Linked DNA regions of Homo sapiens: region 2 is linked to region 1. The links are contacts of gene promoters, found by promoter capture Hi-C in blood cells and fetal thymus (Javierre and others, 2016). All regions are on one chromosome and are shown on one strand. The core of a region is centred on a gene start or on the middle of the fragment in contact, and the rest is flanking DNA. Distances in the headings are between cores, read along the strand shown. Region 1 holds the start of STX11 (syntaxin 11). Region 2 overlaps UTRN (utrophin).

Region 1 (6,539 bases), core at 1,493-3,992:
TGATGCCTGTTAACCCAGCACTTTGGGAGGCCAAGGTGGGAGGATCACTTGAGCAGGGGAGGTCGAGGCTGCAGGGAACCATGATCATGCCACTGCACTGCAGCTTGGGCAACAGAGTGAGCTGCTGTCTCAAAAAAATTAAAAATGTCATCAGCAAGCACCCTCACAGACACACCCAGGATAATGTTTTACCAAATATCTGGGCACCCCATGGTCCAATAAATTTGACACATCAAATTAACCATCACAGCTTTCTAACTCGTTGGCCTGTTTTAATCTTTGTCCTTTAATCTGTCCTCAACAAAACGGTAGATTAAAAAAACAACCAGCAACATCATTTAGCTTCTCTGATAAACATTCTTCAGTCTTCCTGTCTCAATCAATGTAAAATGTAAAGACTATCATGACTACCAATGCCCTACATGCTCTACTCCCCACTCCTAGCCCCACCACCATCACTCTTCCTGGACTCTGTTTTGCCCACGCTGATATTTCTCCCAGAAGCCCAGCATGCTCCTGCCTCGGGGCCTTTACATCCACTGATTCCTAGGCTTGAAATGATCTTAATCCCAATAGCTGCATTGTTTCCTCCCTCAATGATTCTCTTATCTTAGATGGCTTTGCAATATACCCATTTTTAAAAATATAACATACCTCATCCCTCTTATTTTACTTTCTTTTAAAATAAACTGTATTTTTTAGAACCGTTTTAGATTTACAGAACAACTGCAAAGGTAGTACAGAATTTCCATAAATTCCATTTCAGATTTCCCTATGATTACCATCTTACATTACATTCCTCACAACTAATTAATCAACCTTGATTCTTATTACTAATGAAAGTCCATGCTTTATTTAGATTTCCTTAGTTTTTCCCCAAGTCCTTTTTCTGTCCCAGGATCCCATCCAGGATACCACATTACATTTAGTTTTCACGTCTCCTGAGTTTCTTCTAGGCTGCGGCAGTTTTTCAGACTTTCCTTATTTTATTTTATTTTTTGTAGAGACAGCATCTGGCTATGTCGGCCAGATCAGGCCTCGAACTCCTGGCCTCAAGCAATCCTCTCGCTTCAGCCTCTCAAAGTGTACGGATTACAGGCGTGAGCCACGTCTGGACTGTACTTTCCTTACTTTTGATAACCTGACAACTTTGAGGAATATTGGTCAGGTATTTTGTAGGATGTTCCACTACTGGAATTTGTTTGATATTTTTCTCATTATGAGACTGAGGTTATGGTTTTCCAGGAGGGAGACCACACATGTAATATGCCACATTCATCACATCATATTGACTACATGCCATCAATGAGTCACGATTGTTGACGTTGGCTTAGAACATCTGGCTGGGGTAGTGTCTGTCGGCTTTCTCCATTGTAAACCTACTGTTTTTCCCTTTCCACATTGTACTATTTTGGAGGAAGTCACTGTGCACAGCCTAGGGTACATGATCTACATAAATTATTTGGAATTATTCTGTATAGGAGATTTGTCTCCTCTCCGCCTTTTATTTATTTATTCAATTATTTATTTATATCAGTGTAGACTCATGGATTTTTTTACTTTGGCTTGTAATCCAATACTACCTTGTTTAGTTTACTTCGTTGCTCAAATGGTTCCATCTTTGGCAACTGGGAGCTTTCAGGTGGTTCCTGTGTCTAAACATTCTGCCATCAAGGCAGGATTCGTTCTTTAGTTTTATTTTTTTTCTTCTCATTCAATTGAGACAGCGTCTCATTCTGTCGCCCAGGCTGGAGTACAGTGGCGCGATCTCGGCTCACTGCATCCTTGACCTCTCAGCCTCAAGTGATCCTCCCACCTTAGCCTCCCGAGCAGCTGGGATCACAGCGTGCGCCACCACGCCCAGTTAATTTTTTTATTTTTTGTAGAGATAGGCTTTCACCACATCGCTCAGGCTGGTCTCAAACTCCTGGGCTCAAGAGATCCTCCCCCTTCGGCCTCCCAAAGTGTTAGGAATACGCGCGTGAGCCACCGCGCCCGGCCCGATTTTTCCTTTTTTGAGTATCACTTCCTTACTTTTCAGCCTCAGCCTTGTTTTTCAAGGTGCTTTACCACCACCTGGCACAATCCACACTTTCTATTTATCCCTCCCCGTTAAAGTGCCGGGACCTGGAGGGTGGGTCTTGGCAGTATTTTTGAGCGCGGTGGGCACACAAGGGGACGCTCAGTTGATATCCAGAGAATGATGAGCCCGGCGGGTGTTGAGGCCGACTGGAGAGAGGTTGGTCGGCAGGGTTCTGGGAAGGCGGTGCTCGGCCTCCGTGTGACCGCAGGCTCCTCGCCCGCGTCCTCGAGGGTCCCAGGGATGCAGGACCTGCCGCAGCTTCCGCAGCCACACCCACGCTCAGAGACGGCTTCCAGCGTCCTCGCCGCGGCAACGCACCGGACTGCAAATGTCACCAGCGCAGCGGGGATTCCCGGGGGAAGTCCAGCGCGCTCCCTGCCCTGGGGACCAGAGGACGAGCGGAGGAAGTGTCTTGGGCGGCAAACATCCCACTCCCCGCGCCGGTCCGCGCAGCCCGCGGGAACGCCCCTGGGCTTGCGGGAGGGGCTGGAGCGCGTCCCCGGCTCCGGGCGGTCCCGAGCGCATGGACTCTGGGTGGGGCGGGAACCCGCGCTCTGTGAGCCGGCTGCCGCCGCGCCCCAGCGCTGTCATCCCGGGGCGGGGCCTGGTCCCCAGCTGTGGTCGCTTCCTAAGCGGCGGGGGCTGAGCCGGCGGCGCCCAGATGCGGCCGCGGCGGCGCGGAGCTCGGGCGGCCGTGGAGGAACTCAGCCTCGGCCGCAGGAGGCGCCGGGAGCGGAGCCGCCGGGAGTCGCGCAACAGGTTTCCTTCTCCATCGCTGCGCCCACAGGGGACGCGCGCCCTGCCGGGAGAGGGGCTTCTCGGTTCGCACTCTCGCTCCCAGTCCAGGTTTGTTTTTCTCTTCCTGAGCCCCCATTTCTCTTCCTGACTATTTTCCCCGTGCGCGGAGAGATCGGGGAGGGCGGGTCGGGGCGGGGGCACTGTCTAGGCTCGGGACCCGCGGCTGTGCCTTAGGTGGGATTTTGGATCTGGCGCAGGTCCTCACGCCGCCTCTGGGCACCTTCGGAAACACAGCATTGGGTTTCTCATATAAAGCAGAATGATTTTTTAAAATTACTTTTAATTTCAGAGGCTGAGGGACTTAGGATTTAGTGCTTCGTAAGAATTATTTTAGGGATACCTGTTGGTAGGCTGCCTTTATAAAGTGTCCACCCAAGACTACTTTTATTTTAAATCGAAAGGCTGGAGTGTTTTTTTATTATCACCTCTTCACTTCCTAGTAGGGTGACTGTGTCAAAAACACCAGAATGGGTACTTCTTGACTTGAACTTGGCGGTGTCACTCAGTAGCCAGGAAAGACGGAGAAATTGATAGAGCCTTCGAGGAGTCCCTTCGAAGCCCACGTAAGACTTTGTTTTAGAAACATGGAGAGAAGTAGTGGCAATGCCTGCGAGAGCCACGCCGTCCTGAGAGGGAATTCTGCCTTTTTCTAGACTCCGCTGACACCAGCTGAGATCTGTATTACTTCCTGTGGTTCTCACGCACTTGTTTCAGCCGTTTCTCAGCAGAGGGAGGAGCTGTTATTTACAGGTATCCAAAAATGAGTCACAGGGCTGCTCTCTTAATTGTGAGACTTTGTTAATGAACTTTTGAAAAGCGAGGCTTGCTTTAAAATGAGACTCTAGATGTGAAATGCCTGCCCTGCCAACCTGGGGCAGTGGTATGGGAAGTGACGATTGAGTTTTCAGTTTCCTAAGGCGCCTGATGTTACAACATGCCAGTAAAGGTCACTGGGCTGATCTAAGATAACCATTGAAATCATGTGCTTTGCCACAGATGCCCAAGAGAAAATTAATTTCATTATTCAATGACCATTTTGCTGTCATTTTCACTGCATGGGAGAAAGGTATCATTTAATGTGGTGATTGTAAGTAACTCTCTAAAATCAAAATATTTCAGACAGTTTGTGTTTACTAAATTGGTGCTAAAACCACATGATGATTTTTGAAGCGGGTGGGTCCCAGCGGGAGCAGAGAAATTTAAAAGTTGAAGCTGACAAGTCCTATTGCGGTGGGTAACAGCCCTTAGGAAGGGACTGCACACTATCTCAACACGGTAGAGAAGGGGACACCATCTCTACTGGAGCTGAGTTGAGCTGAATTCAGCCTCAAACAACAGTTACCAGGTACCTTCTCTGTGCCAGCCTCTTCCCTGAACCTTGCTTGTACAACCATGAATAATAGGATCCTGCCGGCAAGGTACTAGGGTAAATCTATACCCAGAGTGAAGTTTCTGTGCCAATATAACTCAATATGCTGGGTCCCAGTGTATTTAAAGAGTAGACTCAGCAGATTATCACCCCTAGATAATTGCGGTCACGATTAGTTGATAGTGTGACTTTTAAGAAATAGTGTGACTAATTAATAGTTTATTTAAATATGCTGGAAAATTCAATATAATGAGATAGGTGCTAGGGTAAATCTATACCCAGAGAAAAGTTTCTGTCCCAATATGACTGATGTTTCTGAAGATCTGGGATTTGGAATGGACTGGGTCATGGCTGGAAGAGCAAGGAAACTTTTGAGTTTAGTCATTTACTTGTCTTTGTAGGCAGCCTATTCTTCATTTGATACATGATTTAAAAATGTATGAATTTGAAAGGTATGGTTTTTAAAGTGCTTGAATGAACCATGTTTCATGTTATTTAATAACCATGTAAAACGAAATTCAGCTGATTATCACCCCTGGACAATTGCAGTCACCTTTAGTTAACAGCATGACTTTTAGGAAATGGTGTGACTAATTAATAGGTTGTTTTGTTTTGTTTTGTTTTTTGAGACAGAGTCTCACTCTGTTGCCCCAGGCTGGAGTGTGGTGGTGCAATCTTGGCTCACTGCAACCTCCACCTCCTGCGTTTAAGCAATTCTTGTGCTTCAGCGTCCCAAGTAGCTGGGACTACAGACACCCACCACAACACCCGGCTAATTTTTGTATTTTTAGTAGGGACAAGGTTCGGCCCTGTTGGCCAGGCTGGTCTCGAACTGCTGACCTCAGGTGATCTGCTTGCCTTGGCCTCCCAAAGTGCTGGGATTGCAGATGTGAGCCACCATGCCCTGCCTAATAGTTTATACATTGGTAACACTATATTGAAGCGAGTTTATGATCATTGTTTTTGTAGTTCAAATCAATGTTTTTTATCACATTATAGCCGTGTGAGCCAAAATGAATAAATCTACCGTATCACAGTTTACTGTTGCAATTGAAATCTGCTGAGATGCTTTTGAACTGGATGCCCAAGTATCAAGGTTTCCAAGTTTCCCCAGTTTGCTAAGATATCCAACTGGTAAAGGCAACAATGCTAAATTTCAGACAACTTTACCTTAATTTCCAAACTTTATTCCTCCTTTGAGAGCCCTAAAGTTACTTTTTCTATGAGAAAGAAAGGGTCGAGTTTGTCATTCAGCATTGTACTCCCTGAACTTGGCCCAGGCTTGTCTCATGATAAGTGTTAGAAAGTGTTTATTGATGGAATAATGAACCTTCACGTAGGAGGATGAATTGTCAGGCAAGTGGAATTGTCTGCTGTAGGTGACCCAGCAGAAGGAACAGCACCCATAGAGAAGTGAAACAGCACTGGACGTTCAGGAAACTCCAGCCTGTTTAGTGACGGCACAGAGGGAGGCCTACGGAGACAGGAAGGGCCAGATCACAAAGGCCCCATGAGGGTTTAATAGTACTGAAGCCTTTGAACAAGTGAATGATATTGTCAGGTATGTGTTTAAAAAATAATAACAAAACTTGGAATTTTAAAAATCTTAGATTAGATGAGAGTGACATTGACCCTAGGAAGACACCGTGGAAACTGTTGTCATATTGCAGATGGGACATTGAAGAAGGCCTGAATCGGGCAGTGACAATGCAGATGGGAAAAGAGGGAAGGGGCTGGTAGAGGTTTAATAGGTGGAACCCTGTCGGGTGTGTGTAATGAGGAGGTAGGAGCAGTTGAGATGACTCCCATGTTTCTAATGAATGACTAGGATAAGAATATCCTACTCGGTGGAAGAATAGGTTTGGGCTAAAGGGTGGTGAGGAGCTCACACAGTACTTGGCACATAATCAGTGCTCATTAAGATTTTTCAAATGAATGCTAGTAATAGCTAAAATTTATTGAGTGCTTATTAAGGGCCATGTACTATCCTAGACTCACTATGTGCGTTAAGCCTTTTACTCGTCAGTACAATCCTGTGAGATAGGTACTCAAATTAACTGCTTTGACTGGTGAAGAAAGTGCAGTGTTAGTAACTGACAGAGCCAGAAATGGATCCCAAGCACTTGGTTCCAGAGCTTGCATTCTGAAGCACCCTGCTGTGATGTGCTGTCTTGATGAATGAATCAATGAGGTTTTGGACTTTGTGGTAAGCTCAGGTTGAAGTCACTCTCCTGCCCCTAACAATTCTTCCTTATCCAAGAATGGCCTTGATGCATAAGATGGGCCTTC
Region 2 (6,978 bases), core at 4,051-6,550, 260 kb after region 1:
GCAGGTCTGTATTTAATGTGGAACTGACACTGGAGGGCCAAGCACACCTGGGCTTCCTCCATTATTATTTTGCTGCTCTGATGTGGGAGGCAGCCCAGCAGTATAAAAGGTGGCAAAGGAGGCAGGACACACATATGGATGGAGCCACACCTTTCTGCACTGTCGCAGATACGCCTTGGACAGCTTTCTGAACAACTGATAGAGATTGTGAAAATGCTGTTTTGTAGGATTTAAGCCAACAATGACTCTTTTACTGGCTTTAATAGAAAATCGTGGAGTGATGGAAGAGTATGATTTGAAGAGGTCCAATGAATATTTATTTATCTACCTTGCTTACACTTTTACTGTAATCATTATAACAACGAGCTGAACACCAGCTCTTCGTCAAGTGCTTTTCATTTATATTCACTAACCTTTACAATACTCTTGCAAGCTAGGTATTATTTATCCCCATTTTACAGATGAGAACTGTGAGGAAAAGCGATGTTATAATGACCCAAGGTCACACAATAAATGGATTGGGACACCGTCTATTTGGTTCTAAAGAGAAAGTCCTTTTCTCTTTTTGTTAGCCACATGGACTCCTTGTATGTAACCAAATCCTTCTACCCATATTTCAAAAGTTCAGGGTGGTCAGTCTTTTAAAGTAACTTTTCTTTTTTTTATGGCTCAGAAAATGAATTTGTAATCAAAACCAAAACGGATAATGGTTTTAAATTCTTCTGATTTTTCTACCTGTAAAAGTTCGTATAGATCAAGATCATTAAAACCTCATGCCAATCTTACTACAGGAAAATGGGTTACAAGATTGACCATAAACCTTATACTGTCATTCTAGAGGGTGTAGGACCAGTATGAAGAGGGAGGAAGTCACGAATTCCTGAGTTTTTATTGGATAACTTTAATTTTTGTTTTTAGCATGCTGACATTTTGATTATGCTGAAATTTTACTTGCACAAAATGTAGCAGAAAGTGCTACGGGTACTAGCTGGAAAGTAGGGCTCTGATTTGATCCGATAAACCTGGATTTGGTCACTGATGGCAGGACTCCGGGGTTTAGGGTGAGACAACCTGGTCCCTTGGGAAAGGTGCCCGAGCCTCCCTCTGTTGTAGGCAGTGTTGGGCTCCATAAGTGTACCGGGCAGTCATCACATTCTGCATTAGCTCCGCCTCATTGTGCTCAAGGAGCTCGACTAATAGGACTATTTTAAACTCTCCAGGATAGAGATAACCTTATTTGGTGCTTTACTAAAGGTACAGACTCTCATACTTTTTCCTTCTCTTTCTTTTTCCATTCCACAGATGAACACAATGACGTACAGAAGAAAACCTTTACCAAATGGATAAATGCTCGATTTTCAAAGGTAACTGAGACTTTCAAAAACTTCGATGGTTCAGATGCCGCATTCTGATTGAAGGAGTTTGGTTGGAAGTGCAGTGAATTTTCCCCAGGAAATGTCACCTAGCCGAAGTCTTCTGAGTATGCAGATACATTTGTTGTTCCTTTATTCTGTCCTAAAATATGTTTAAACGGAAATTCTCATGCACATAGTTTATGGGACGCTATTGACTTTTACCTGGCCTTCTCCAGATATCTAAGGCAGCAGTTAGCTGCTTTCGATTCTGTGAATCCTGGGTACATCTTGGAAAAGAATATATCATTGGGAAAATTTTTGAGTTCTCTTGGTTAAGAGGATGATGATTTCATTTTGCCTGGTTAAAACCAAATGTTATAATTCAGGCAGTCTTTCTACCCTGTCAGAAATATTTATGGATTTTTATTCTTGTGGATGTGGCTAATAATATTTATCTGCCTTGTGGGTTGTTTTTTCTTGTGTACTTCCTTAATTCCTCCCCCACCCCAAAGATCTACTCTTAGCATTTCTAACCATTTAGAACATAATCAATGCTTTGAGCAATATTTTTTCATAGGGGCAGAGCATGCTGAAGAGAGGAATTGTCAGTGCTATTTTCAAATCTGTTCTAATATGATTATCTATTAGTTATTGGTGTTGGAATTTTGTGCACTAAGCCTGAGGTAGGAGGAGAGTTTTCAGGATAACAGATTGTTTAGGACTCTTCTACAACAAGATGAAAAATAGAAGTTTCTCAGAGAAACACTGTTGTGGTCTTTTAAATAGTATAAAAGCTATTTTAATGAAGAGTTGCTTTTCAAAATTTTTGGTTGCTTTTCAAAAGTTGTAAAGGTCAGAGAGACAAACATTGGTATTTCTTGAGGAAAAATGAGGATATCTTAAGGTTACTTTGAGTAGCAGCATAGTTTAAAAAATGCTCCACGTCCCAATATTTATAGTTGGTTATTTGATTTCACTGCTTTTTGGGCTTTGCGAGTTTATCTTGAGGGGTATTTTATCTTGCCTGTGAGTATGTAAGGAACATGAAAACCAACTTTGACAGAGGGTTAAAAATACAGAGAATTAGAACATAAAGGTGCTTGCATAATTGGCAGTTATATGTGTAGGATTATTCCAAATCACATGCAGGTGTGTTTTGGTAAATTTTAGTTTGTTTTATTCCAGAGACACAGGTAACATATGTGCATCTCGGGCTTGACATGAATAAAAACTTTTGAACTATTCATCTGCATGTGACCATTTTCCAGAGAATGTAGTTTTAGCAACTGGGAGTCTGGATATGAGGTGTTTTATTCCAGTGGTCTTATGATTGCTCATAAAAGTAAGATTATTTTTCCTGGTTATTCACGAGGATAACACAGTAATTGTTTAGATAGAACAAGTGAAGCAGTTTTTAGCAGCTTAATTTAGTCTTTGGGGAAGAATTGCCTTAGAACTAATTTTGAAGATTGTTTTGAAAGCATTAAACTTGGTAGACCTAAGTTTAGAGAGCATTTGAAACTGGGTAAATTACTTTTTACCTATTTATGAAAATGGAGAGAAATAGGTAGTAAAATAGGACATGGAAAGGGTTTGTAGAGGAAGAGAGATGACAACTGAGACAGAATAATTGAAAAGAAATTTCTCAATATTTATGGTGGGTCATTGACACCTTTAAAAAGACCTCAAAGAAAACAAAATCTGGTAGTACCAGACTAGTTTATTAAATGAACTTGATATTTAAATTTGTGCATTTATAATGTCTATTATTTTGCAATTAAATGGGGCTTTAAGTCCCATGTAAATTGTTTGCCCTGGAATATTTGTATTTCTTACCAAGATACTGGAAAAGACTTGGTAATTTTTATCATTTTTAGTAAAAGTTATAGTTAGTTTTAGCTAAAAGCTTCTCTATTAGTGTTTGGAGATGGTAGTTTCTAAGCTCAGCTTCTGTGTTAGTGTTTGGAGATGGTGTTTGGAGAAAAACTACCAAACGTGGGATGACTCTGAAAACTTTTATTTTCATCTAGCAAGAAATCAAAACCTAGAAGGAATTTATCTGAGAAATTATGAATATTTGGAGATGGGAAGCTCATGGCAGTGACACTAAACATCCACATTATTTTTTCTTTCTTCTGGCTGTCTTAAGACCATAAGTTGGATTGCTTCCAATTGGGGATAGTGAAAGAGGGAGTAACACATTTCTAGACTGGGAGATTTCCATAGACTCCCATGTGGCTTAACTCTTGCTGAGCTGGGGAAAGACCGTATTCATGCCTGGTATTACTAGGTAATGCGAGGATAGAACAAGAAAAAAAAATAAATCCCGTTGAAGGGAACGAATTTTTTTTTTCATTTTTAAAAATCCATGTCCTTTGGTACATTGTGGTGGGTTTTACAATATAATTTTTCAGTGGGTCCACTACTTCCCTACAGTGTGGGTTCCTAAACAGAGCAACAGGACCTCTGTGCTGAGAAATCCAAACAGACACTGATGGCACCTTCTGCCATTTAGGAATTTGTTTTAAAACAGACATTTGTCTAGATATTTCCTTTGTGGCCTCCTCCCCATCAAAAGTCAATCAAACATCGAGCCTTGTTAATTCCAATACCTACATATATTCAAAATTGTCCACTTACTCTATGTAGAGTGACACGTCTCTTTTCCAAGGCATTGTTATTTGTATTAGAAAAAATGGTGAGAGACTTTACAATGGGCAAAAAACTAGTGGGTGTCCTGTTAGCTCAGGCATCTGAATTATCTCTGCCTTTAATTACTTTTGAGCTACTTTACGACTAGGTAAGTTGTGGAAAATAGGTATGCAAATGATTCTTATCCATAAAAATGAAAATTATTTGTAAAGCAGTTAATTATTACTCCTTGGATAGACCAGTTTTTGCATCTATTGCAAATCTATTTCAGTTTTCATTTTTCTTGTGTAAAACATGTGTTTTTAAAAATTTTCCCCTGAACTGGTTGTAACAGCTTACTGGGTCCCTCATTAATTAATGAGTTAAATAAATCTTTGACAGACATTATTATCACATTGGTTTGAGAGTTATGACTTTACCTTGTTGGAAAATTATCCTTGAATACATGGACCACTGTGATAATCTGCTAATTGGTTCTTCCATTCCATGCTCCACCTTCTCCATCTCCCTTTCCTTTTTTTTTCTTTTCTTTTTTTTTTTTTTTTTTTTTGAGACACAGTCTAGCTCTGTTGCCCAGTCTGGAGTGCAGTGGTGCAATCTTGGCTCATTGCAGCCTGCAGCCTCTGCCTCCCAGGTTGCAGCGATTCTCCTGCCTCAGCCTCCCTAGTAGCTGGGATTATGGGCGCATGTCACCATGCCCAGCTAATTTTTGTATTTTTAGTAGAGATGGGGTTTCACCATGTTGGCTAGGCTGGTTTCAAACTCCTGACCTCAAGTGATCCGCCTGCCTCGACCTCCCAAAGTGCTGGGATTACAGGCGTGAGCCACCACGCCCGGCCTCCCCTTCCATTTTCAAGAGAGTATCTACGGTGCTTCTAAAGGGTAAACCTGAATACCTTTTTCTCTTCTGTAAGCTCTTTCGTTGGGTGCCCATTTTCCTTTTTTTAAAAAACACAATTAAAAATTGAAATTGTATAATTTTTGGTATATAGTGTGATGTTTTGGTCTTACTTGGTTCTTAAAGCTCTAAATAGCTGCCTCCCAATTTACTCCTAATTTTATTTTACTTTCCTCTCGCTCCCTCATTTTGCTCCAGCCACACGGCCTTTGCTTACCATCCCGGTGGGCCCTCCCTGGCCTTTGCACACAGTCCTTTCTCTATCTCTTCCTGGCCAGCTCCTACCCCTTCCTGCTTGTCTGAGCTTAAATGTTGCTTCCTGAAGGATCTCTTTTCTGAGCTCCCAGACTAGGGTAGATAAGCTGTATACTCTCAAAGTGTTATGATTTGAAGCACTTACCATACTGTAATTTAAATAGTTGCCAGCCTTTTTTCCTAGGTTAGACATAAACTCTGTGGGTGCAGGGACTTTCTATTTGCTTATTGGCATATCTTTTGGCATTTAGTAGGTATCCAGTAAACTATTTGTAGGCTTAATAAATAAATGAATGACAATGACATAGACATACATTGAATATGCCTAATTCTATATGTTCATAAGCCACTTGGGGATGGTTGCATTGGAGAGACAGGAGTAGAGTTTAGGACTGAGTGCAACATGGCATGAATTGTGCTAAGTCCTGGATATGAATACAATGCATCAGGACTTTTGCTGCATTATTGACAAAAATAAACAAATCCAGCTATCCAAACTTTCCCTATTTACCTGATTTCTTGGAGTTGTGCTGCAGTGATTGTTAAATAACCACTTGGACTTAATGCATATTATTGTTTTATTTACCCAATACAATTCTTCACATAGGGTCTAACTATTAAATTCACTGTGAAGAAAAATAAGACTTAAAACTTAAAGCCAGAACAATTCTTTTCTTGATAAGGGATTTGGTAAAGAACTTGAGAATAATATCAGTCTAAAACCATCTTTTAATTTGTAACTGTAAATGAATATACAGTAACCAAGACAGTGCTCACTCAAAATATGTATTCTTTTTGCTGCAAATCCTTGTGAACATATCATGGAGTATACAGTGCTTTGGAATTCAGGATCCTGAGAAGTCATAGTGTAGAGTAAATTATGGCTCTTGGATTTTTAAAAGTTATGAAGAGCTCAGAAAAAGTGATTATCTAAAAAAAGCTAAAAATTAGGAAATTAAACACTTATTTCTGGATATCCTGCTCATTTATTTATGACCTCAGGCAAATTATTAGTCAATTTTTTCAGATCACCTGGTCTACATTTCCATAGCCATAAGACGCAATCGATCATTATTACCTTCCTTATATCGTGAAGAAATATTGAGGCATTGCTGAGAAGTGTATAGGAGATGATAATTACTTAGGAATGCAAAATAAAAACCCTATCATATACCTCGAATCTGTGATAGTCCTGATCTGTGGATCCGTGCCACACGTAAACAGAAAAGGGAAAAAGCACTGGCTCATTAAGCCCGCGTTCTTCCATTGTATGGTGTGTATGACTTGAGTGTTTTGCCCCTTCTAAATTTCAGAGCCTCTGGCTTGTTAGCCGGCCGGTCTCCCAAGGGAGGCAGCAAAGGCCTCATTGCTTTGCTTTGGGAAATTTGCTCTGACTTTGAGCCTGCATTTTCTTTGGCTGACTTTCAGAGCTGCTCATCTGGCAGAGCTGAAAACATACAAATTGCAGAAGTTCTTTTATCCATTTGGTGAGATGGTTCTCTAAAGAGGCTTCACAAATAAAGGTTAGGTAGAAAATATGCAAAATTAAAAATGCTGAACTTGAGTTTGTGCAAATCCCTGCTTTTCTCTTTTCTAAGACACAGATGAGCCAAGTTTTCATGTAAGTTACAATTCCAACCTTGAAATTCAAATTGACAGAACGTAAGAGAGGAAAGCCATGAAGCATTTTTTATGGATTCCAATATGGAGAGCTATTAAGATGTTTTCCTTTAGGAGACAGTGAGACATTGCTTTTAGATTGTTTTCCTACTTTTTTCATGTTGGAAGTTAATAATCACTAAAATAAGGGTGGGAAAA

The links. Contacts are between HindIII fragments. The CHiCAGO score rates a contact against its expected background, and 5 or more counts as called.
Region 2: a contact is called between a fragment that was not itself captured here and the fragment with the promoter of STX11 in region 1, in 1 of 17 cell types (naive B cells). The highest score is 5.9, in naive B cells.

The regions. Positions count from the first base shown.
Region 1 is chr6:144,147,775-144,154,313 of GRCh38, forward strand. STX11 (syntaxin 11) reads left to right here and starts at 2,743. Exons shown (of 2, transcript NM_003764.4): 1 at 2,743-2,929. RefSeq lists a silencer at 2,430-2,869. The HindIII fragment of the contact is 10,810 bases long and covers 1-6,539 here.
Region 2 is chr6:144,401,821-144,408,798 of GRCh38, forward strand. UTRN (utrophin) reads left to right here. Exons shown (of 75, transcript NM_007124.3): 3 at 1,303-1,364. SNORA98 (small nucleolar RNA, H/ACA box 98) reads left to right here and starts at 3,835; the gene lies at 3,835-3,947. The HindIII fragment of the contact is 4,083 bases long and covers 3,260-6,978 here.